Regions from separate parts of the Homo sapiens genome. Here region 2 is linked to region 1. Evidence: promoter capture Hi-C in human tissues and cell types (Jung and others, 2019). All regions are on one chromosome and are shown on one strand. The core of a region is centred on a gene start or on the middle of the fragment in contact, and the rest is flanking DNA. Distances in the headings are between cores, read along the strand shown.

Region 1 (2,945 bases), core at 179-2,678:
TCCTCTAGCCCAGTGGCTTTAAACACCATCGTGATATTGTGATACAATAGGAAATACATATTTTGTCTTTGTCCCTGGTTCCTGACACAGAGCTCCTAAAACCCTTGGAATTTCCTCAGTGATAAGATCAATAAAGGTGAAAGGGCCATTTTTGTTATTCATGACGTCCCTTTTGACTATGTCTAAGTTTAAGTGAACAGGTAACTTTTGGAAAGTTTCTAAGGATAGCGGCTGGTTGCCAGGAGAATCAGCCATGTTATTCAGTAATCCCCTCCCATCTCTGGGGAGGAAAGAGGGACTGGAGATTTATTTAATCACCAATGACCAATGATATGATCAATCATACCTATGTAATGAAGTCTTCATAAAAACACAAGGGAACAGAGTTTGGAGAGCCTCTGGGTTGCTAAACACATGGAGGGACTGGGTGGATGGCATGCCTGGAGACAGCATGGAAGCGCTTATCTCCTCTAGTTTTTTAACTGCATTCTCTTTACTTGAAACTGTAACATTTGTTTGTATACTCGTTTATTTTTCTCTCAACTCTACTGTGAGTTCCATAAAAGAAGGGACTCTGCCTTGTTCACCCTTGTATCTTAAGTATCTAGCATAGTGTCTGGTATACAGTGGTACTCATGAGATTTTTGTAGAATGAATACATGAATACAGGGCAGAAGATTTAAACTGGGTCCCTAAATGCCAAGGACTCCATTTAAATACTCTACCTGCTCTGCGCTAAAGTTTGCCTTGCTCAGTTAGACTATTAGCAATGGTCTTAACATGAGTCTTTAATTTTACTGGTCAATGAGATTCAAGCATAACTTGGCTATGTCTGAAAACATGGCGGAGTATCTGACAGAGTCCTTCATGTAAGAGGGGCGTGGGGTAAAATCCACATGGGAAAGGATTGAAACTGTCTTCACTGCTCAGATTTGAAGAGATCTGGGTTTGTTTAAGAAGCTGGTGATGTGGTTCATCAGAAAAAGAGAAGGCATTTGACCCCAATCAAAGCCTTAGATTGAAGGAGGAAGTGGAGATTCTGAATAATGACCATGTCCATTTTGACCAGAGCAGAGTGTTCTTTCTGGTCTCATGAACAGGCTCATGATTCACAAAGACTAGCCTACTATTCCCATTCAACCTGTGTGAGGGGAAGAGCAGGAATGATTGCTCCTGAGCACGAGTGATGGGGGTTCCTAGAAATACTCCAAGGTGACTTTACATAGGGAGGAAATTTATTTCAGGATCTGGTGAAGTTGAGAGCTCACGTAAATTTGGTTTTAGAGAAGAAATGAAATATCAAATGGTACAGCATTTCCCACACTGGAAAAGGTGTTTGAGGACATGAGAGAGTTAATAAAGCAATTGCCCGTGACTTTCTGCTGAGACATCCACTAACTGATTTATCTCATCTTGATTGTGGGAGCCACAGTCTTGATGCATTCATTCTCAAGGACACTTGATCCACTGCCAGAGAGGCCCAGAATTTTCTAACTTACTGTGTGGCAGAATGAAGCCTCTGCTTGAAACCCTTTATCTTTTGGGGATGCTGGTTCCTGGAGGGCTGGGATATGATAGGTGAGTGTAAAGTGGGAAGAGGAACTGATTATTATAATTTAGATTGTCTAAATTGAATGGTTTCTTTTTAAGACCAATGCAGCTGGCTTCTCCTTCCTTGCTACTCATATATACCACCATGAGATGAGAATAATAAAGACCACTGAAATTTATCACTGAATAATCATAATCCTCTAATAATCCTTGAATAAATGAATAAATATCTAGCAAACATTTCCTAACACAATGCATGAGATATACAAATAGACATGTCATGTTTTGTGATTGGAAAAAGAAAATTGTAATACAAATTCTATATCCTTCATTTTCATAGTATCTCATTTGGTAAATCACATTATCCTAATTATTAAGAAAAATGTTAAAATGACCAAATAATTTCACCTAGAGATAAGTACTATTAATGTTTTCAGATAGCTACCTGATTATGTATGCAGCACTATTTCTGAAATATTTCACTTAAATTGTATTACAGAAATTTTCCTATGGCATTAGCAATTTATTTAAAACAGTTGAAATTGCTAATAATATTCTGTCATTTAGTCAATTCCTGCTTTTTCATTTTTACAAATAATGCTGTGATGAGCAACCAGCTACATAATTTTTTTTGCTTTTTGCAAATCTTTAATTATTTCTCTAAGAAGTGGAATTACTGGGTCAGTAACTGAGGAAAATGTAAGGATCTTGCTACACATTGCCCAATTACCCTCTAGAAAGATTACATCAGTCTACACTTCCAATAACAGTGTATGAAAGCACTTTTTAAGTGTTTGGCAAATTGACAAGTAAAAAATACACATTGTTGACTTCCTTTGTATTTTGTTGATTTATAAGAGTAAATATTTTATTACTAATTTTATCATTTTATAAATTGCCCATTAATGTCATTTGCCCATTTTTGTGGTCTCTCCCTACTCTTAATGAATCATAAGTTCTCTAAATACATTCTATTGAAATCTGTGTGTGTGTATGTGTGTGTGTATAGTTTCCATATAAAGTGTGTTTTTCCCTTGTTCATATGCAAATCATTATTTTGCTCATTTAGCATATCTCATGAAGTATATGTGGTTATAATTGGTATTTCCTCTTTTGCTTCATGGTTAAAGAAATCTTGCAATGAACTTGCTCTCACATAACATAGAAACCCACTCCAATTTTTGTCCCACAATAATTGTGTGACCTCAGCTTGTTCCTTATCTTCAGTTCAATTTCAGATACTTACAGAGTCCAGGATCTCTGTGATATCAAAAACCTGTTTGAATATTTCTTTCTCATTTTTCCATTAGTTTACTTGGTTTCATGTACATAGGGCATTTATTTTCCTTTCTGAAATTCCTCATCCATAAATTGGAAATGAAGACTCTTACATA
Region 2 (2,700 bases), core at 56-2,555, 150 kb after region 1:
AAATTCAATACCCCAGCAAGGTACTTAGTCATGATTAACTTATACTTATTAATTTATACTTACTGAATTCCACATAGGAATAGTAAAAGGTAATAGATAAACTTGGCATCTAGAAGTGCAGAATCAAATAATTTTAAGAGTAATATACCCCTAGAGGGTATTTATAACTTTACAGCAGCCAGGTGACCTTAAATAAGAAGGTCCTTAATTACTGAAATTTGTACATAATGGAGAACTAGTCAACCCCACAGTCATTTCTCTCGTTTATGAAAAAGGCACACTAGGCCAGGCGTCGTGGCTCGCGCCTGTAATCCCAGCACTTTGGGAGGCTGAGGTGGGTGGATCACTTGAGGTCAGGAGTTCAAGACCAGCCTGACCAACATGGCAAAACTCTGTCTTTACTAAAACTACAAAATTAGCCAGGCATGGTGGCAGGTACCTGTAATCCCAGCTTCTTAGGAGGCTGAGGCAGGAGAATCGCCTGAACCCCGGAGGCAGAGGTTGCAGTGAGCCGAGATCGCACCACTGCACTCCAGCCTGGGCAACAAAGCCAGACTGTCTCAAATGAAAAAAAAAAAAAAAAAAAAAAAAAAAAAGGCACACTAACGTCACATAGGGATTAAGTCAACAGCAATCTCCTAGGTGACCAAGAGGCTAAGATACGGGCTGGTATTTCTTACCACTTATAAGTGGGCTGACATAAAGATCAAAATGCACCCTCTAAACTGCCCAAGAACTGGAATGTACTATGCTAGTAGCTGTCTCCCTGGATTATAACTGCACTGAGTCAGTCGGTAGAATGAGGGCCTGCATGTTACCACTGATGGAAACTGAGCCCTATCTACCACCATCAGCAGCCTCCAACTCTGTGGGTTGAAAAACCACTTATCCCTCTAGCCACTGGTCACTCAGGGGGGCTGCACTGTCCAGTCAGATGGTGAAGAAATGGCACTACTACTGTGCTTTCTTTCCTAACCCAAACATGAAGCCAGAAGTCACAAAACCCAGTGTCTGCAAGGCCAGGCAGATAAAGTATGTGCCGTGGGTCAAGTGTAAGAAACACAGCACTCTTGGGCTATCTGTTTCCACTTCCGATAAGGCATGGATACAAAGAAGTATAGCTCTTCTTGTAAGAAGAAACAACAGAAAGCGGGACAATACTTGGCAACCAATGGCTTGCCTTTGAGTTGTGGAGCCACAGGGAGTGATGGGAACAGTGGAAACATAGTCATCACATGGCTATGGCAAATGGGTAATGATTGCTCTTCAGCTACATCCAATTACAGCCACATGGGAATGTGAGCCCACTGTGGCCAGATCTGATTTTTCCAGACAAAGCCAGAAATACAAACTTTTTTGTGTGACATTTAACGATTTTAAATGTTGGCCAAAAAAAAAAAAAAAACCAAACCAAAAACGTCATGAATTTTTTAAAACTACCCTATAGGCAAAATAAAAGCATACGTTAGACTTGGTACATGCTTAAGGAAAGGAAGTCTAAACCCTACTTAACTTCTAAATAGGGCAGTGTAATTGTTCAAATTTTAAGAGACAAGAGGTGGTGCACTCATATATACTGCGGTACCAACAGGATGCCATGTCCTGCCAAGGGCTACAGATGCCCTCTGTTTCTGAAGGTAAACATCTTCTAAGGAATGCCAACTCCCGGTCACTCCAGGCTTTCCTTTCATCTGCTTTGGGACCACTCCAGTTCCCCATGTTGCCTCCCAGGCCTGGCTATTCTTAGCACAGTCACCGTAATTGAAACGCCAAGGTGCTGCCTGTCATGAGACACTAATGGGAATACAAACTCTCATTTATGATGCTGTCGAAAATGCACTATTGGCCTGTGTCGCGGGACGCTGATCTACTCAATCTCCCACAAATACCATGTTGCAGAATTTGTACCATCTGCTCAGCAAATTTCTAGCTCCAGAAACTGTAGTGTATTTTAAAGAAGAAAACAAAGCAAAAGACTAACCAAATCACCCATCTCTGACATCTCTTTCAGTGAAATAACCAATCGGTTTGGAACATTTCTCCACGTAAATCATACAAAAGACCAGATTAAATCCAAATACATCAACTGCTGGAAGGTTGTAAATCAATAAGTCAGTTGATTTGAAGAGTGGAATACTAACTTTGGCAATTTCCCCATAAGAACTCTTTGTCCACATCCAATAATTACGGCTACCCATAATGCTCACAATCTCCAAGTAACAGCCTCCACACCCTTCAGAGCTGGGCAACTTGTGTGTACACGCTACCATCACACTCTGACCACTCACAAAGAATTCACCTTGGTCCCAGTTGATGTAACAGAACACTCTCCTTCAAAAGACTATGGACAGAGAGTCACCATCTGCAGGGCTTCTTTATTAGCCAGAGTGAGAGAGGCACAAAGCAGAGAAACTTGAGATGGAAATAGAAGGAAGATGGGGAATAAGGAGAAACTCTCCTGGAGCATACTCTGTAGAAGACAGCTGCTGATTCATGTAAATACAGGAGGACTTCTAGGTAATGGATGGAAATGTAATAATAACTTGTATTCTTGGGTAGCAGAACAGAGTTCCAAGGGAATGGGAGACAATAACTGCATAAAGTACACTTCCTCAGCCCTGGAGTGGGAGGTTATCTCTGGGCTCCAGGACGCATGGGGTCTTTATTTAGTACTTAGAGAATGAAGATAAGAGGAAAATA

What was found. The method cuts DNA at HindIII sites, captures the fragments that hold promoters and counts their contacts. A contact is called where the count stands out against the background at its distance.
Region 2: a contact is called between a fragment that was not itself captured here and the fragment with the promoter of CPO in region 1, in 1 of the 25 tissues and cell types used here (thymus).

Annotation. Positions count from the first base shown.
Region 1 is chr2:206,938,090-206,941,034 of GRCh38, forward strand. It overlaps CPO (carboxypeptidase O), which reads left to right and starts at 1,429. Exons shown (of 9, transcript NM_173077.3): 1 at 1,429-1,578. The coding sequence starts at 1,511. The HindIII fragment of the contact is 12,088 bases long and covers 1-2,945 here.
Region 2 is chr2:207,084,598-207,087,297 of GRCh38, forward strand. The region is part of intron 3 of KLF7 (KLF transcription factor 7); the gene reads right to left. Among named protein-coding and RNA genes, the nearest start is that of MIR2355, 24 kb to the right of the region's middle. The HindIII fragment of the contact is 3,891 bases long and covers 1-2,700 here.